Linked DNA regions of Homo sapiens: regions 1, 2, 3, 5 and 6 are each linked to region 4. Evidence: promoter capture Hi-C in 16 types of primary human blood cells and fetal thymus (Javierre and others, 2016). All regions are on one chromosome and are shown on one strand. The core of a region is centred on a gene start or on the middle of the fragment in contact, and the rest is flanking DNA. Distances in the headings are between cores, read along the strand shown.

What was found. Contacts are between HindIII fragments. The CHiCAGO score rates a contact against its expected background, and 5 or more counts as called.
Region 1: a fragment that was not itself captured here is called in contact with the fragment with the promoter of KAT2B in region 4 in 1 of 17 cell types (non-activated CD4 T cells); the score reaches 5.2 in non-activated CD4 T cells.
Region 2: a fragment that was not itself captured here is called in contact with the fragment with the promoter of KAT2B in region 4 in 1 of 17 cell types (non-activated CD4 T cells); the score reaches 5.4 in non-activated CD4 T cells.
Region 3: a contact is called between a fragment that was not itself captured here and the fragment with the promoter of KAT2B in region 4, in 6 of 17 cell types (total CD8 T cells, naive CD8 T cells, monocytes and 3 more). The highest score is 9.1, in total CD8 T cells.
Region 5: a fragment that was not itself captured here is called in contact with the fragment with the promoter of KAT2B in region 4 in 1 of 17 cell types (fetal thymus); the score reaches 6.2 in fetal thymus.
Region 6: a contact is called between the fragment with the promoter of OXNAD1 here and the fragment with the promoter of KAT2B in region 4, in 1 of 17 cell types (fetal thymus). The highest score is 7.0, in fetal thymus.

What each region holds. Positions count from the first base shown.
Region 1 is chr3:15,860,768-15,863,955 of GRCh38, forward strand. The region is part of intron 1 of LOC107986064 (a long non-coding RNA gene); the gene reads left to right. Among named protein-coding and RNA genes, the nearest start is that of MIR563, 11 kb to the right of the region's middle. The HindIII fragment of the contact is 497 bases long and covers 1,203-1,699 here.
Region 2 is chr3:23,812,278-23,815,364 of GRCh38, forward strand. All of the region lies in intron 3 of UBE2E1 (ubiquitin conjugating enzyme E2 E1), which reads left to right. Among named protein-coding and RNA genes, the nearest start is that of UBE2E1-AS1, 6.9 kb to the left of the region's middle. The HindIII fragment of the contact is 7,557 bases long and covers 1-3,087 here.
Region 3 is chr3:23,948,762-23,951,791 of GRCh38, forward strand. All of the region lies in intron 1 of NR1D2 (nuclear receptor subfamily 1 group D member 2), which reads left to right. Among named protein-coding and RNA genes, the nearest start is that of NR1D2, 5.0 kb to the left of the region's middle. RefSeq lists a silencer at 1-271. The HindIII fragment of the contact is 1,040 bases long and covers 974-2,013 here.
Region 4 is chr3:20,038,992-20,042,409 of GRCh38, forward strand. KAT2B (lysine acetyltransferase 2B) reads left to right here and starts at 1,455. Exons shown (of 18, transcript NM_003884.5): 1 at 1,455-1,789. The coding sequence starts at 1,487. RefSeq lists silencers at 717-1,356, 1,527-1,656, 1,857-1,916 and enhancers at 1,080-2,050, 2,767-2,956. The HindIII fragment of the contact is 5,734 bases long and covers 1-3,418 here.
Region 5 is chr3:16,296,510-16,299,880 of GRCh38, forward strand. The region is part of intron 6 of OXNAD1 (oxidoreductase NAD binding domain containing 1); the gene reads left to right. LOC107986065 (a long non-coding RNA gene) reads right to left here. Exons shown (of 2, transcript XR_001740608.2): 2 at 149-3,371. Among named protein-coding and RNA genes, the nearest start is that of OXNAD1, 33 kb to the left of the region's middle. The HindIII fragment of the contact is 7,562 bases long and covers 1-3,371 here.
Region 6 is chr3:16,263,805-16,266,834 of GRCh38, forward strand. OXNAD1 (oxidoreductase NAD binding domain containing 1) reads left to right here and starts at 1,408. Exons shown (of 9, transcript NM_138381.5): 1 at 1,408-1,701. It overlaps DPH3 (diphthamide biosynthesis 3), which reads right to left and starts at 1,139. Exons shown (of 3, transcript NM_206831.3): 1 at 965-1,139; 2 at 351-425. The coding sequence starts at 1,072. RefSeq lists an enhancer at 971-1,280. The HindIII fragment of the contact is 2,642 bases long and covers 1,306-3,030 here.

The sequences.
Region 1 (3,188 bases), core at 201-2,700, 4.2 Mb before region 4:
AGAAGATTGTTGTGCGCCTGGGTCTGTCCGCCCGGGCGGCTCCAGCCTCTGGTTTATAAAAGGTGCAGATGGTTAAAACACAAACGTGTGACGTCAGGGTCGGTTTTTAAAAGTCTCTTCTACCCACTACATCAGTTGTGTCTCTTGGGATGGACTTTAGAGAATCGATTCGAGCCTAATGGCAGTCTAGAGAAATGGAGATCTTCGTCAGGACTATCAGATTATTGTAATGCTGCACTTATAACAAAAAACTTAGATTTAGCCACGCAAAAAAAAAAAAAAAAAAGAAAATAGAGTGCAAGATAAAAAAACACACCTGATTAACTGATAGTACGACCCTTCCAATATTCTTTGAGATATCCATGCTATGGTTCCATTGAAACAATTTCTTACCTAAAATTATGTCCCTCGTCATGATATTTTCTACTTAAAATGGAGGAATTCTCATAACTGTGATCTAACCGTCATAATGAGGCTAAAAAGGAAATCAAACTGCTCTTGCTTTGCATTCTCTTCAGTAGCTCCTTTACCCTTTATTTCAACTCCAGCAGATAAAATAGAGATACTATTTGTCACCCAACCCCTCCTTATCAGTTCAGTGAGGGTGAATGAGTTAATGTCGTGAAAGCACTTGAGTTCTCCAAAACAAAGATGTTGTGATAATATTACTACAGTACTTTGTGATTACAAGTTAGCTTTGTAAATAATTACCAATGTGCCATATCCAGTCGTGTTCTATCTTGGCCTAGGAGTGTTAGGATTTACCCTCATTTATAAGTAAGCCTGTTAAGCACTATGGATGTTGAGCCAGGAATTAATATAGCCCTCCTCTTCCCACCAAATAATCTCTCCTCTAGGTTAAATTTCTAGAATTTAAAAACACAATGAGAACCTGATTAGGAACATGGCAAAGATGATTTTTTGGGAGAATGTAAGTGTGTTTGAGAGTATGAATTTATGGACTAAATATGCATTTTAATAGATTTTGTGATTGAAGCTAATGAAACTTTCCAGGACTCTTTTGAAATTTTCTAATTAACAGTAATTAATGAAAATGTTTTATGATGTACCATCTGCATTATAGTAGGCATGGAGCTCTCCTTATAGATGATGCTTCACACCTAGCTGGGTTCTCACCCTTCTGCACCATGAGCACCATTTAACTTCTCTGTGTCTCAGTTTCAACATTCATAAAAAAACTAAGCTTAACATTTCCTGGCCTACTCATCTCACACCATCAGATAAGATAGTGATATGAAAGGCTGTGGAAAACTCTGAAGGACCATTACACTATATTATTATTATGACAGCAATTACAGGGTACTTCAAATGTTTGTGGGAAATAGAATTAAAGGTTAAAATTGAAATATAAACTTTATTTCTCAACATACGATTTGTCAAGTTCAAGATGATAAGCAATGATACCAGCCATTTAGTTCATCCTTAAAGAACCGAGGGTCCTGGGAATTCATGTCAATGCAGTCTTTTTTACAGTAATAATGTAATGTTAATAACAGAAGAAAAATGCATGCCTTTTAAAGAATTGTTAAGATTAGGAAACAAAAATAAGTCAGAAGGAGCCAAATTAGGAGTATGAGGTGGATGCCTAACGGGTTTCCATCAAAATCCTAACAAAATTGCCTTTGTTTGATGAGAGGAATGAGCAGGAGCATTATGTTGGAGAAGGACTCTCTAGTGAAGCTTTATTGAACATTTTCCTGCTAAAGCTTTTACTAACTTTCTCAAAAATACTTTCATAATAAGCAGATGTTATCATTCATTGTCCCTCCAGAAAGTCAAGCAAAATCTCTTGAACATCCCAAAAGACTGTTGCCAAGACCTTTGTTCTTGACTGATTTGCTTTTGCTTTGGCTGGACCCTTCCACCTGTTGGTAGCCATTGCTTTGATTGTGCTTTGTCTTCAGGATCATAATAGTAAGGCCATGTTTCATCTGTTAGAATTCTTTGAAGAAGTGTACGAGTGTTTTAGGGTCTTGACCCTACTTGTTTAAAATTTCTATTGACAGCCTTTCTCTTGCCTGAAACTGATCTGGGCCCAATGGTTTGGGCACCCATTGAGTTGAAAGTTTGCTCAACTTTAATTTTTCAGTCAGAATTATGTAAGCTTAACCAATTGAGATGTCTGTGGTGTTGGCTCTTGTTTGTGCGGTTAATCGTCAGTCTTCTTCAATTAGGATACAAACAAGATATTTTCCTCACAAATTGATGTGGATGGTCTGCCACTGTGGGCTTTATGTTTGACATCGTCTTGTCCCTTCTTCAAATGAGTTATCCATTTGTAAACTGCTTATTTTGGGGGGCAGGGGGCATTGTCCCCATAAACTATTCATAAAGCATCAATGATTTCACCATTCTTCCACCCAAGCTTCACCATAAACTTGAGGTTTGTTCTTGCCTCAATTTTAACAGAATTCATGTTGTTCTGATACGGGCTCTTTTCAAACTGACGTCTTATCCTTCTTAGTGCTGCAAACTGTATCCTGTTCAGATACATTATAACAAGTTAATATAAGTTTATGTTGGTGAAAAAAAATTGAAATCCAGCGAGACACAGTGGCTCATGGCTGTAATCCCAGCACTTTGGGAGGCCAAGACAGGTGGATCACTTGAGCCCAGGAATTTGAGACCAGCCTGGCCAATGTGGCCAAAGCCTGTTTCTACTAAAAATACAAAAATTAGCCAGATGTGGTGGTGCGTGCCTGTAATACCAATAATTTGGGTGGCTGAGGCACAAGAATCACTTCAGCCTGGGAGGCAGAAGTTGCAGTGAGCCAAGATGGCACTCCAGCCTGGACAATGGAGCAAGACTCTGTCTCAAAAAGAAAAAAAAAGGAAAAATTAAAATCCATGCATATTTTTTCATAATATGCATTTTCCATGAACTTTTTGAAGATGCCTTGTACATTTTCATAGCTGCTGAAAAAAATAGGAAAAAAAAGTCTATACGGCCAGGTGCAGTAGCTCATGTCTGTGATTCCAGCACTTTGGGAGGCCAAGGTGGGCAGATAACTTGAGGCCAGGAGTTTGAGACCAGCCTGGCCAACATGGCGAAACCCTGTCTCTACTAAAAATACAAAAATGAGCTGGGTGTGGTGGCGCATGCCTGTAATCCCAGCTACTCAGGAGGCTGAGGCACGAGAATTGCTTGAACCTGGGAGGCAGAGGCT
Region 2 (3,087 bases), core at 523-3,022, 3.8 Mb after region 4:
CCTGTAACTCCCATACTTTAAAAATTAAGTATAACATTTAACCTAGTTCTCAAGATCGGCGTTGGAAAGGGATGTGAGATTTCAGAAATACTCTAAACTTATTGGTAGGAGTAGAAGTTACTGACAAAGTATTCAGCGGCTATACACAATTTTTAAGATGAGTGTGTGGGAATAGGTTGAAAAGCTAAATGAAGTATTTTGTTTAGTAACAGTGAACTTTGGAAACTAATTAGTGGATTAAATACAAAACTATTGCCGTTTTGGTTACATTCATTCTTAATGTTGATTAGGTGTGGGATGCTCTTCCGTGAAACTTTGTCCTGTTTTGTAAGGAAAGTCATTTTGAGTTTGAAATGCTCTTAAACTATAGTTTATAATTGGAACACTTAATCATTCTGGGGAATTCTTTCCTGGCTAATAATCTCTCAAGATGGTTGAGAAGTGGAAAAACCATAAGACTTAGGCCTAACTCATTATTTTGATGGTGGTGGTTCACGTGGAAGCCTGTAGCTTCCCTTGGTTGTTTGTGTGGAATCCATGTACATTCCCCAAGGTGGTTCTGTGCTGTCTAGTTATTGCTCCTGCTTGGTATTGTGTGTCTCCTATGTGTGTGTTATTAATAACATTGATTAAAACATATAATGGCTTTCTTGTGAATAAGCACAGTCAAATCTAAAATTGTAAACCATTTGAAGATTTTCATGGGATTAAGCATTTAAAAAAAAAAAACAGTGTAAGTACACTTCAGTTTCACATCGTTTTAACTGAGTTTATGTGTGAAAGATTTATGCTCCTGAGGCATGTGGAACTTTTTTATCTTTGGGAAACCCTCCCAATTACCCCTTCAAGGTGAAACGTTTGGGAATTACCTGTGGTCAGGGGATGCACCAAACTGGGTGGCTGTTGGGTGATTGGTGTTACGGAGTCAAAGCTCAAAATACTAAATTTTAAGAAAAATCTCTGATTTGAGAGAAAATACGAGGCATCTTCATTTTGCAAGAGAATGTATATTACATTGTCTTTTAACAATAAAGATGACTTTATTTTCTGAAGATATTTTCCAGTGGGGCCGTTTGAGTAATGTGAATTAAAATTTTTACTTTTGGTTGGCTAATGGTGCTGTCTTAATGTTATATAGTAGTCCCAATATTCAGCTCTCTTAAAAGAGTTCGGTTTTACGTTTTGTGCTGTTACCTTTTGGAATTTAATTATTTAGTATTTTAATGTACTTTATTGGAGATAAAGATGGATTATTTATTTATTTATTTATTTATTTTCTTTTTGAGACGGAGTCTTGCTCTGTAGCCCAGGCTGGAGTGCAGTGGCATGATTTCGGCTCATTGCAACCTCCACCTCCCGGGTCCTGGTTCAAGCAATTCTCCTGCCTCCTGAGTAGCTGGGATTATAGGCACGTGCCACCATGCCCAGCTAATTTTTGTATTTTGGGTAGAGATGGGGTTTCACCATGTTGGCCAGGCAGGTCTTGAACTCCTGACCTTGTGATCTGCCCGCCTTGGCCTCCCAAAGTGCTGGGGTTACGGGCGTGAGCCACTGCACCTGGCCTTGGGGATACTTTTTGAAGTCAGCGTCCAATGAAAATCTATGAATTAAGTGATATATTAAGTGCGTACATGTTTAAAATTACCCTCAGCATGAAAGCATGAGATTTGAATGAGTTAAATAATTGGTTTTCAATTAGTCTGTCTTATATTTTTACCCTTTGCCATACTTCCTTTCTTCAGTCAGCATTCAGTGTGTAGTTTTAAACACGTTATTAAAATATGGCACTTGGCACATAGTAACTTCTCAGTAAATACAAAAATTAGCCGGGCATGGTGATGCACTCCAGCCTGGGCGACAGAGTGAGACCCTGTCTCAAAAAAAAAAGTTGATTATTGCAAATCAGTAGAATTGCTCCTCTTGAAGGAAGGTGCACTGTTTGTGTTCACTAATTTTGGCACTTGGCAAAAATATTTGAAGTTACTGAGCATCAAAACTTATGTGAAATGCAATTGCTCAATATGTTATAATGTATGAAAACATAAAATTAAATTCTTAATGTTGTATATTATGTTGGGTGGATATTTTTTAGAACACAGTACAGATTGTGTTCAATGACCTGGTCCAAAGTCATTTTAAGTAAGTATTTTCAAACTGCTTTATGTTGCCATAGAAATCAAATTCTTAATTTTAGTATCTGTGATTTGTGTGTGTGTGTATATATATGCATACACACACACACAAAATAGTTTCCCAACTCACTCTTCATTTTGGTTAGGCTTTTATTCCCATATCATTTAGCTCTATTCTTTTAGGGAAAAAAATATGTTAACTTTGTAATGATTCCCTAAAGCGTGCCAGATCTTAGATTGTAAAATTATGCCTTTTAGATAGCTGATGAACTCTGGGCCACCAGAGTCAGTTTTGCAGCTGTTATTTATAGCCCAGGGCTCAAACTTTGCTAAATTGACTAGTTATAACTAGCCTGTAGACACGAATATCTGTAGACAGTATGTCTATACAGACTAAATGGCATATTTTGCCTAAGTCCTTTAAACTTCAGATTTTATTTAATGGATATATTTGTTTCATGAGTAAATGTCTCAGTGACTTAACCTAGAAATTCAGATGGGGTGCTATTTTAGGATAAAATGTCTGAAAAGTCATTAAACACTTCAAGCATGGGTGAGAATAATAAAAATACATTTCTTTCTTTCTCACTTTTTTTTTGAGACAGGGTCTCATTTTGTCACCCAGGCTGGAGTGCAGTGGTGCTCACTGCAGCCTTGACCTCCTGGGCTTAAGCTGTCCTCCTGCTTCAGGCCCCCAAGTAGCAGGAACTACAGGCGTTCGACACTACACTCGGTTAATTTTTTGTATTTTTTTGTAGAGACCAGGTTTTACCTATTGGCCAGGCTGATCTTAAACTCCTGGCCTCAAGCCGTCCACCCACTTTGCCCTTCCAGAGTGCTGGGATTACAGGCGTGAGCCATGGTGCCTGGCCCTGATACTAGTTTTTCTGTATGTGACAGAATTTCCATTTAGCCTTCTTTTGATAGCTTTTTTTTCCCTAACACTGCCTATATT
Region 3 (3,030 bases), core at 244-2,743, 3.9 Mb after region 4:
GGAACACAAACTGTTAACTACTGTGCTATAATGTACTTTAGCCTGCATAATATTTGAAGATTTATACGCAACTTGGTGGTCCTGTCTTCTTGAGGGTGAAGGAGATACTGCATGTGTATGGATCCCCACTCAATTTGCAGTGATATATGTAGGTTATAGCTAGTGGAAAAGGATAGTCATCTGCAGGGCCTCCCAGTTTCATCAGTCCTCTCTTTAGTCATGCTGGCTTATTTCCAGACATTAGATTACACCTTGACCTCCCTTCTCCAGTAATTTACATGGAGATAAAAATAATGTCTATTTTATAAAATAAGACCGATTTGGCTGGGCATGGTGGCTCATGCCTGTAATCCTAGCAATCTGGGAGGCTGAGATGGGCAGATCACCTGAGGTCAGGAGTTCGAGACCAGCCTGGCTAACATGTGAAACCCTGTCTCTACTAAAAATACAAAAATTAGCCGGGTGTGGTGGCGGGTGCCTGTAATCCCAGCTACTTGGGAGACTGAGGCAGGAGAATCGCTTGAACCGAGGAGGCGGAGGTGGCAGTGAGTCGAGATCACACCATTGCACTCCATCCTGGGTGACAGAGCGAAACTCCGTCTGAAAAAAAAAAACAACAAAAAACACACCATTTATTTTTGTGTCACCCTATTTAAAAAATGTCTCTTTTGATGATTTAAACAGTCTTCAATTCCCCACTTAGATATTGCAACCTTGGATGTGTTTGCCCCTATTGATTTCTGCCCTCTTTAGTATGATCCTCAGCAGTCACAATCATGTGTGTGAAACATTGCTCCTAATAACATAGGTGTTTCCCCAGTTGGCCTATAAGGCATTTTAGGGAAAGGACCATGCTGTTCTCTGGAGCCCTGACACCTAGGACACAATTGGAATTTTAGTGCTTCAGTTAGATCTACTCTACCACCCTTGGAGTAGAAATTATTTATAACACTTTTAAAATGAGGGAAACTAAAGCTTCTTGGTGATAAAATGTTTTGTTCTAAGTCACAAGGCAGAAAAGTACAGTCATGACTTGAAGTCAAACATAATCTCCAGGATGGTGGACAGAGGAAGTGTGAGGGTTTTGATGATGGACAAGTGTAGAAAATGGGTAAGAAGACCCCAATATATGCAGGAATATCAGTGCTTCCTAGCAGTACAAAATTGGATATTGACTTAAGGCTTGTCTGAAGTTGACCACTGGGTAAGCCCTAGCCTGGGAACCTGGCCCAGGTCCAGGGTCCCTTTCAACTGAAAATAGAGAAGACTGCTTCAGCTAATTTTAGCTCAGGGTTTCAAAGAGGTACATACTGCCTGTTTCTTGGAGGTGTTGGGACTTGCTGGTTTGGGGATTTTTACTCTTCTTACTTTATCATCAAAAACAGTGTATGAAAAAAGCACTTATGAATGCCATTTCATTTCAGTCTTGTAATAAGTGGCAGATATTCCAATTTTATAGAAGACCACTCAGGTTTAGAAAGATTGAAAGTGACTTGCTTGCTCAGGTCTTCTCACCAAATAAGTTTGTACTCTGGAATTGGACAACCTTGACTTTAAACTTTGGCCTGCCACTTAGTGGCTGACTTATCCTCTCTGAGCTCCTTGTTTAAAAAATGATTTGATGAAAGTTAATTCACAGAGTTCTTCTTGTGAGGATGAAATTGTGTCATTTTATTCCTGACATCCAGTAGGTACTTGGTGACTTGTAGTTTCACTTTCCTTTCTTCATTAGGTTGAGGAACTACTAGATGTACTCCTTTTCTTCTAAGAAATTAAAATTTAACCCATTTGGGTTGCTATCAGTCAGGTTCATAGATGGGTGTCTAGTAGCAAGAATAGATGCCAAGACAACTAAATCAATATTGAAGGTCTTGCTAGGAGAATGCAGCTACTTCTAGATGGGTCTTCTTTGATTTTCTGGTGCCTGGCACAGATGCTTGTTTTCTTAAGACAGGAATTGGATCTTCGCTGGATTGATAATAGCCCAGTAGTTTCTTTTAGGTTGGATATTGAAGCTTTTGCAAAGGAAATTGTTTTTTGGTTAATTAATTACGATACAGTCCATTGCCCCGTCAGTGCTTGCAACCAATTTTTAAGCCATCTGCATAGCTCTAATTTCTTTTCTTTTCTCTTTCTTTTTCTTTTTTTTTTTTTTTTTTTGAGATGGAGTTTTCACTCTTGTTGCCCAGGCTGGAGTGCAATGGTGCCATCTCGGCTCACCGCAACCTCCGCCTCCCGGGTTCAAGTGATTCTCCTGTCTCAGCCTCCTGAGGAGCTGGGATTACAGGCATGCGCCACCACACCTGGCTAATTTTGTATTTTTAGTAGAGATGGGGTTTCTCCATGTTGGTCAGGCTGGTCTTGGACTCCCGACCTCAGGTGATCCGCCTGCCTCGGCCTCCCAAAGTGCTGAGGTTACAGGCGTGAGCCACTGTGCCCGGCCAGCTCTAATTTCTAAAAGTTTATTTCTTAGCTAAGGTAGTCAGCAGATCTTGTGAACATAAATGACTGAAAATGGGGGCCCTAGGAAAGTCTTACTTCCAAGGAAAAACATCACTTTCTTATCTTTTATTTTCCTGAGATGTTAGATGTGAATTTAGTACTTAAGACACTATTTTAGAGAAGACAAATAGCTGTGAGATCTTCCTTTGGAATTTCATTGAGGACTAAGAATATTTGTCTTTGTAAAGTGTCCTATTGTGAGTGGAGACATCTGTGAAAAAGTAGCAGTGTGCTAATACCTGGAATTTTTAATGTGGACTTAAGATCTCTAAAGTTATATAAAGACAGCACAATGGTTTTATCCAGTAACATGACACTGGCTAGGTTTCTAGGTTAAGTTGGTTTCTCTTTGGATTCACAGGGTATTAATGATATTCTGGCGGTTGTATCGATGAAATCATCAATCTTTAAAACTATGGGCCAATTTGTGTTTGAATTCACTGATTGTAGCCATTTTGAAACTTCAATGTGCAAATAATTGCTTGGAGAGCTTGTTAAAATTGCACATTCCTGAGGATGTGTTCTCGT
Region 4 (3,418 bases), core at 205-2,704:
GGAAAAAGAAGAAGGGGAATGTTTCCCACGAAAAGCACACCCCTTAAAGCGTCTGGCCTGAGAGCTATACAGCATGCATAAAATCTGATAATAAGCACATTATGACCCACATTGCATATAACAAAAAGTAGGGCACTTCTGAAGGGTCCTGAGAAAAAGCCCTGGGCTTTTAAAACCTGCTTAAGAAGGCGATCAACGGTACACCACTTTCAAACGCAGCACTGACTTGTATGCTCCACAGTCATCAACAGTGAAAACAACAGTTTTCAACAAGAGTTGGAAACACTGAGTTGAGGGTTTTTTTTTTCTTTTTAAAGTTTGAGGCCAAAATCGATATTTATTCTTTTGAATTATGCTTATATCTTTTTCCTGGTTAATACGCACGCGGTGGCACAATTTTGAAAACTACGTAACGTTATAGAACCACCACCCAGAAACGAATCCTGTTAACAAACTTTTTGTATTCAAACTTTTTCCACTGCATAGTTTTTGACAATGCTTTTTAGACAATCTTTCTTTTAGCAACCAGCACTTTCAAACAAAAATTACAGAGAATAGTAAGTTTTTTTCCCCTCCTCCGGCAGATTTGACCCAGAAATTGCTATGGGAAGAAAGTGTTAATTATATTAAAAAATAGTTTGACAGAAAGTATTTAAAAAGAGAAAGGGAGAACATCACGTCTTTATTTTGGTGAATTAGCAACAAAGAAAAAGATTAGCATGGACGGGTACTTTTCAAAAATATATTTTTTTTCCTCTGGCTCCCGCTAGGGTGGAGGAAGTTGTCTCTCTGTCAGAGACAGGGTGGAAGAGAGTGAAAGGACAAATGATTGAGAGGCTGCCCCCTCCCACTGGTGCAGGCGTGCGGGGGTCGGATGGGGGGCCGCGGAGGGGGGAGGTGGCCAGCAGGTGCCTGGGCTCCAGGCCCCTACCCCCACCCTCGTCCCCACCCTCACCCACACCCAGGGATTGGCCTCGCCCCCTGGCGGGCGAGCGGTAGGTGTCGAAGCACTGGGGTGGGGGGTGCAAACCCCGCGGGCAGCGGAAAAGAGGCCGTGGGGGGCCTCCCAGCGCTGGCAGACACCGTGAGGCTGGCAGCCGCCGGCACGCACACCTAGTCCGCAGTCCCGAGGAACATGTCCGCAGCCAGGGCGCGGAGCAGAGTCCCGGGCAGGAGAACCAAGGGAGGGCGTGTGCTGTGGCGGCGGCGGCAGCGGCAGCGGAGCCGCTAGTCCCCTCCCTCCTGGGGGAGCAGCTGCCGCCGCTGCCGCCGCCGCCACCACCATCAGCGCGCGGGGCCCGGCCAGAGCGAGCCGGGCGAGCGGCGCGCTAGGGGGAGGGCGGGGGCGGGGAGGGGGGTGGGCGAAGGGGGCGGGAGGGCGTGGGGGGAGGGTCTCGCTCTCCCGACTACCAGAGCCCGAGAGGGAGACCCTGGCGGCGGCGGCGGCGCCTGACACTCGGCGCCTCCTGCCGTGCTCCGGGGCGGCATGTCCGAGGCTGGCGGGGCCGGGCCGGGCGGCTGCGGGGCAGGAGCCGGGGCAGGGGCCGGGCCCGGGGCGCTGCCCCCGCAGCCTGCGGCGCTTCCGCCCGCGCCCCCGCAGGGCTCCCCCTGCGCCGCTGCCGCCGGGGGCTCGGGCGCCTGCGGTCCGGCGACGGCAGTGGCTGCAGCGGGCACGGCCGAAGGACCGGGAGGCGGTGGCTCGGCCCGAATCGCCGTGAAGAAAGCGCAACTACGCTCCGCTCCGCGGGCCAAGAAACTGGAGAAACTCGGAGTGTACTCCGCCTGCAAGGTACGCGCTCGCCGCTCTCGGACCGCGGATGGGTGCTAGGGGCCCAGCCCGCGGGACCCCCCTCCCCCTCCCGCTTCCACCTCCGCCTCCCGCCTCCTGCCTCTCGCCTCCCGCCTGGGGCCGCTGCACCGCGGAAGTGCTCTTGTCGCCCGCGCCCAATTAGCTTCTTCTTGGATAAGAGTCCTGCTGGGTTTGAAGAAGGGGGATCACTAAGACGGAGAGCCCTTCATTCCTTCCGCTTGAAAGGAGTAGCTTCGGCATCCGAGCTCCCGGGCTACCTTGGGGTTTTGTTGCTCTGTAGGAGCTCGCTGGAGTCACTTTCCCGGGAGTGGAGCGGTGCTCTCCATGTGGCGGGTGACCCAGGGGCAAGGAAAAATCTTTTGGGGGACTGAGTGGTCCCTTCTGCAATCGATCCCTTCCTGTGTCCCACTGGGAGGAACTGGGTGCAAGGAGTGGGGGTGGAGAAGACTCCCGGACTCCTGGCGCTTTGGGAAAGCGAAGGGGAGGAAAGCGCGGGGTGGGAAGGTGGGCAGAGTCCGAGGCGAGGGTCTTGTGGTGCCTGGCGCCCTCGGCTGGGGGCGGAGGCACTGCCGCGCGCGGTGACAGCCCTGTCATTATTGTATTATTACTTGTTTAGTTAAAACGCTGTCCCAGCTGCTCGAGGTGTAAACAGGATTTGGCAAAGTGACAGCCCAGCGCGGCGGGCGCTACTGCTCAGTTTGAGGACACCCATTTCTTGCTACCCACTCTCCATGCCAGTTTAGGCACCCTGTCACCTCCAGCTGCAGATCCAGATGTGGAGGCTGTGTTCCCGAGGTGGGAGGATTGCCCGAGGCCGCGGGGCAGGCTGGCCCTGCGCTGTCAGCAGCGGCTTTGTTTTGACAGGGTGACAGCTGAGGGGGGCGGGGACTTGGCCTTGTCAGCTCCTGCGGCCTGTGGCTGAGGCAGGGAAGAGACACACTCACACACACTCACACCTCCCTGTATTCTTCCTGCCTGCTGTAAAGAGGGTCAAGTTCCCAGATTCCAGATTCCCGATTGTCACAACCAAGCTGCAGTGACCACTTCTGAATTTTGACATAACTATAATTTATTCTACTAGAACATCTAGGTTATACTCTTCTTGGTACTTGCAGGAGCTTCTCAGTCACAATGGAATGTCTATGCTTGCTCTTTTTCCACACCATATGCTCAGGTTTATGTTAAGCACCTCTGTATCCTACACTGGTTCAATAAATATTTGTTGAGTGAATGTAGGATCTAGCCCAGTGCTCCTCAAACTTTAATGTGCATGGGAATCTCCTGGGGAAGCTGGTTAAAATGCTGATTATGAATCAGGTGGTCTGAGGTGGAAGCTGAGAGTTTGCATTTCTGACAAACTCCCAAGTGATGCTATGCTAGTCCACAGACCACATTCCAATTCAGACCTGGACAATATATTATTTGTCCCCTTTGATTTTAGCAGAAAAGACAGAAACAAATAATAATGCTATGTGGTTATTTCTGAAGAAGGAATGCAAAAAAGATGAAGTGGGGAGTGTGCTTCTAAGAAAGGTGCAAGCCCAGGAGTTGATCATGAAGGGCATTAGACGAATGAGAACAGGACACCGACTGTAGTAGGCAGAAGGG
Region 5 (3,371 bases), core at 737-3,236, 3.7 Mb before region 4:
TAGCTAAAACAATTTTGAAAAAGAAGAATAAAGTGAGAAGAATCACCTTAATCAAATTTAAGATAAAGCTACAGCATTCAAAACAGTATGGTATTGGTGAAAGGAGAGAAACACATCAAATAATGTTACAGAATGAAGAGTTCAGAAATAGACTGACATATATGGTCACTTTATTTTTGACAAAGGTGGTAGATTCAATGGAAAAATTGAAAGGCAAAAGGATAAACTTTTCAACAAAAGTTCTGGAACAATTTTGCATCTAGATGCAAAAAACAAAAAAACGAAAAACCAAAAACCTTCAACCTAAACCTAAACCTCATACTTTATATTCAGAATTAACTCAAAACGGATTGTAGATCTAAATGTAAAACATGGTACTATAAAAGTTCTAGAAGAAAATGGGATATTTGGAACTTGAGGGTAGGTAAAATTCTTAAACACAATACCAAAAGCAAGATCCATCAAAAAAAAGGTTGATGATAGGACATGGTCAAAAGTAAAACTTTTTCTACAAAAGGCATTTAACACAATTTAAAAACAAGCTACAGACTAGGAGAAAATATTTACAAATCAGATATCTAACAAAGGGCTTGAATCTAGAATATATAAAGAAATCTCAAAAGTCAACAAAAAGAAACAAGCAACATGATTTTTTTAAATGGACAAAGGATTGAACAGACACTTCAGTAAAAAAGGATATGATGATGGCAAATAAGCAATGAAAGGTATTGAAACATCGTTAACCCTGAGGGAAATGTAAATTAAAACCATATGTGGTGGGATGCCACTACGATCTAGTCTAATGTCTAAAATTAAAAATATTGACAATACCAAGCGTTGGCAAGGATGTGGAGCAACTGGAACTCTCATATATTGCTTATATTGCTAGTGGGAATGCAAAATAGTACAGCCGATCTGGAAAGCATTTTAGCAGTTTTCTATAAAGTTAAACATACACCTAACATATGACCCAGCAATACCACTTCTGAGTGTCTTAGAGAAATGAAGGCTATGTTTATATAAAAGCATAACATGAATATTTATAGCAGTTCTATTCATAATTATTAAAAACTTCTAGAAACAACCCAAATGTCCCTCAGCAGGTGAATGGATAACTTGTGATATAGTCATACAAGGGACTATTAAAGAGATGAATTATTGATGCATGCAGCAATGTGGGTGAATCTCAGAGGCATTCTGTTGAGTGCAAGGAGGCAGTCCCAAAAGGTTACATACTGTAAAATCCCATTTTTGTCACATTCTGGAAGACAAAGATATAATGATGGGAAACCAGTGGTTGACTGGGGTTGAGATTACTGTAAAGGTAGGATCGATAGCACAGGGGAATATTTTCAGGGGGTGATGGAACTAATATATGTTTTGATTTTGATGATTGTTACCCAGATCTATATGTGTGTTAAAATTCATAGAACCGTATACCAAAAGAAAAAGATTTCTATTAAGGAAATTTTTAAAATAAGTTTTTAAAAATGTGCAGGAGCAACATAATATATTCTTGTGGTTTACACGTCAAGTTGTGTCTGTCCAGGATAACCCCCAGATGCCTGTGTAGGCATTTCCATTGTAAATGTATCCTGTCACATTTTTACCCTGCAACCTTCTGAGTCTCTCCGTCAGTGTGGCCTCAGCTGCCTCATTGCTTTTTGGAGTCTCTGGATTTTCCCCTCATTACTGGCTCTAGGTTGCTCCTAGAGGTGCTAAAATATGCTGCTGGGGTGAGAGCAACGAGGTATCTGCATGCCCCTTGCTCAGAGTTGAAATAAGCATAGCCATCCCAGTTCCTAGTGCCATGAACATCTCCCCATCCTCCCTGTTATCCTTAGCTTCTCACGCGACCTGGCCTGGTCCTGGTCCACAGCTTCCTGCTTGGTTTCATGCCTCATTGGCATTTCAGTGAAGAAACTTATTCTTACAGGCTGTAGAAAATCTCAAAGTGTTATTGCCTGAATGCACATCCTAATTGTAGTGCCTGCTCTACTCTGCCCAGTGGGAGTTGCAAACAGCCTTTATGAAGTCAGATTTTTCTTGGAATCATTTTCAGGTGGCTATTTTCCTCCTGAGGATTTGTCTTATTAAGCCATTCGAGTGGACAATGGAGGCACGTGAGTGTCTGGGTGGCAGCAGGCTGCACCGTTGAGACATGGAATAAAGTGCCATAAACGTCTTCCTTTATTTTATCTGCTTTGGCTCAAGCTCTTGGCAGGGTAAAGGGTTCTAGACAGCTATTGTGTGCTCAGCTCCAGTTGCTGTGGAAAGGTTGTTTATTTCACAAGTAGAAAATCTATACCAAAATTAGATACATTGCTGTGTAATTGAAGGTAATGTCCTTTTATTCACTTACATATTACAGTGTACAGTACTTTGAGTCTTGTGTTCGTGTTACCCTCGCAGTTTTTATTGATCAACAAAAAGACAAAGATGGCTTTTAATTCTTCCCGGATGCTACCAAATCAGAATACAGACCTACCGAAGATTATTTTGTCGTCAAGGATAAGACAGGCTTCTTGAATATTATCTTTCCCTGGGGCACATTTTCTTGCCAACTTTAGAGTTGAAAATACTCTGGTTTCTAAAAACAATAACCTAGAGGCTTTCTTTGTTGTCATTACTAAGCATGCCAAAGATGGCCACTGGAGAAAATTATTTCAGTCTCTTTCACTCTGATTCTTATAGATAAAGAGAGAACTGCACAGGCAAGCAAGAGAGGGAGGGAAGGAGGATATAGGAGATGAAATTCATTGTCATCGTTAGGCAGAGCCTCTTGTATCTTAAATTCTATTTTTGAGACTTGAAAGGAAAGAATATTTTAAAGCACTTTGGTAGCCACTGTAGCAGTTCCTAGATTTTAGTTATTCCTAACTGAATGCTCCCTTGCTGCTAATTTCTTTTGTCAAAAATGAAAACCCACTTATCACCATTCATGTAAAAATCTCCCACATATTTAAAATAGTGAGGTTCAGACATTTTTTCCCCTGAAAGAGTATCCATTCATTTAACAGTTCTTTACCAAAAAAGACATGTTTTTGTGAATTCAAATAATTTTCATTTTTCTTAGATCTTCTCTAAATTTAACTCAACTTTAACTTGCAGAGACCAAATTAAATTCATGTCCAGAAGTACCTACTGCTCACCTGACATGCAAGGTGCCAAGGTGTGAATGCTAAGGGTTTGGTTCTCAAAAAGCACGCGATGTGTTATTACTTCTTAGGAGGGCATTCATTTAGTTGATTTATGCCAGGAACGTGTAATGGGAGAAACCTATGCTCTTAATACAAGTTTCTTTATTCCTAGAATCTGTTTTTTAGTGACAGGGAAGAAGGAAGCTGGTATTGCCAGCACTTTTTCTTTTG
Region 6 (3,030 bases), core at 158-2,657, 3.8 Mb before region 4:
CTTCAAAGTAAGTCTAGCAGCTCTAAACAATTTTAATTACATATTAAATAGAAGAGAAATATAAAAAATTGTCCACTAAAATAATCTATATACTTTCTATTTAATAAATAATAATTTTCACTAAAGCTAGATTTATCTCTAAAGCTAAAATAAATTACGTAATCTGAACTTTAAACGTTTTAATTTACTATTCGGCTGTTTATCAATGGTGTTTAAAACCTGCCTAAAAAAATACCGCACTTTACCTAGCACAATGAAACATTCTCCTGCACTCATCACTGACAAGCTGATCTAAGTCCTTGCCACTGACTTACAATACCCTTCCCCCGTTTTAAAATTATATCCCTTACTTTGTCATAAATCACTTTTATAATGAGAGAGCAGCTAGGACACGTTGCCACGTCTTCCCCATTCTCCAAATCTTCCTACAACGAAATCAAATACCATGTGGTCAGGATAGCTTCTCTTCGCCATCTCCTCCCCCAAACCTATCCCACCCCTAGATGCAAGTCTCTTGGTGGCTTGCCTTCCCCCCAAGGTGGGTGAGAACCCCAGGGCCTTCAGCGAGAAATGCCGACATCATTTTCCCCTAGAAGCGTCACTTAGGGGAAACACCTAGGAAGGTCAGGCGAGCTTCGGTCGCCCCAAAAGCCCTGGGAAACAAAAAACGAGTCCCCTCCTCGACAGAAATATCCCAGGTTGGGACCCTAAGGCAGGGATCGGGCAGAGAGACAGAGGCTCTCCGCCACCCTCTCCCTGACCTAATCTAAGGCCAGAACTGCGTGCCTACCGAGAGAGCTCAGGGCATTAGTTGGGGTGGGGGGACGCGGGAGGAGGAAGATTCAGCAACGGGAAAGAGGGCGTGGGTGACACAGCGCAGCAAAGGCTACCCAATGATGGAAGGAACGGGCGGAACCAAACTGCGCTTGCTTGGGTGAACCGCCGGGCGGGACCCTGAAGTTACCTTGGTGATGGAGAAGTTATCTCCACATGGGCAGGGATAGAAATACGTCTCCGAGTCCTCGTCATATTGGAAGTCCTCGATTTCCACCTCGTCATGAAACACTGCCATGGTCAGCGGGGGTGGCCGAAGGGGTAACGCCCCAGCAGTCCGAGGCCAGCTCCGAGGGTTTAACTTCGCCGGAACCGGCCTGGGCTCGGCATCATCAGGTCGCGCCGGGCAAGGACTAGCCCTTCCGGCGCATAGGCAATGACGCAACTCCGCCCTGCGCGGCCAAATGGATAACCGGTAGCGGTCACCATGGAGATGGCTGAACTAGGGGCGGAGACACTGGGAAGACTGAAAGCTTGCTCAGCGGGGTCGCGCACCGCTCCTCCTATTGGGCGGCAGCGACCAATAGAATGTGGGGCTCGCCCGCGCTGCTACGTCACGTCTGGGACCGCGGAGTATTCCAGGCGCCTGCAACTAAACGTGGCCGGGTCTGCAAGCTAGGTGCCAGCGGGGAAAGTTTCCCTGCTTCTTATCGTCTGCTTTAACGCCTTAAATAGCCCGCTGAAGGCTGCAGCAGGTGCTAGGTAGCAGCCTCCCGGCCCTCGGGAAAGGCGGGGTGGGGAGGCGAGAGCAGCTTAGCCTCCTCGACCTCCCTTCCTGGTGACGGACGAACAGTTCCCGTAGAATTTCGCTTCACCGAGTGACCTTGAGCCCAGGGCGACGGTCAGCTTGTTAATTCCTGGCTGCAGGTACATTCCGCTTCTTCCTCACCCCAGACGCCTTAAAATACCCTAAATTGTGTTGCTGAAAGGACCAAGCCCTGGAAGGCAGGGATTGAGTTCTAGTCTTCTGTTTGCCAGGCTTATAACATTATTAACGACGATGATTTTTAGTAATAGTAATAACATCACCTTTTATTATTGGGAAGTTATGTGCCAGCTATTGCACTAAGTGGAATTGTCAACTCTAGGAGTTTACATGTTATTCCATTTTATTAATCTTTAAACTGAGGTACAGAGAGTTGGGCATCTTGACTAAAATCATACACCTGGGAAATAATGAAGAGCTTGTCTGTCTCCAAAGCCCAGGAACAAATTACTTATGTGAGTACCAGTTTTTTCGTTGTGAAAGAAATGGTGTCAGTAGGCAGGTTTATCAGTGTGAGGCCTATGTATGCCTTGAAGCGAAATGCAGATAAAAGGCATTTTTGTCTTGAAAGCAGTGCTAGTGCCTGTTTTGGTAAAACCGATTACATTGGGTCTTACTTAATTACTAGGCATTTTAATATCTTAGTAGAGAAGAAATGCATTGTAGTGAAAAAGCACTTTCGAGAGAAGATCTGGGATCGGAATCTTGAGTTGTTGATTACCTCTGGCAACTGGATATTTACATTCTTTGGGCCTTATTTCCTCTTCTAAGAAAGGATTGGAGTAGAGATGATATAAGATCCTTTTTAGATGTAATGTTCCACTTTTGCACGGAAATTATGAGCTTTACTTGGTTCAGCAATGATATATAACATTTAGTTTACATTTACGTAACACATATACATAATATATCCCTGTGCACTTTTGAAGAAAACATTACAATGACTACTAAACTTTACATTTATTCCTAAAAGGGCGGATCACGAGGTCAGGAATACGAGACCAGCCTGACCAACATGATGAAGCCCCGTCTTTACTAAAAAATACACAAATTAGCCAGGTGTGGTGGTGTGCCTGTAATCCCAGCCACTCAGGAGGCTGAGGCAGGAGAATCTCTTGAACCTGGAAGGCAGAGATTGCAGTGAGCTGAGATCACGCCACTGCACTCCAGCCTGGGCGACAGAGCTAGACGCTGTCTCAAAAAAAAAAAAAAAAAAAAAAAAGAAGTAGGTCATAATTGTATAATGCAAACTATATTTGATGAGTGCTGTTGTATATCAGGCCAGAAGGAGTTGTTTATTGGCAATACCAAACCTCCACCTCTCTAGGTTGTTTGACAAGGAAGAGAAGGGGTCAATGTATTAGGATTGATTTTAGTAACACTGTTGCTTGCCAGGTACTTTGGTAGACATTTTATTTATTCCTCTCAGT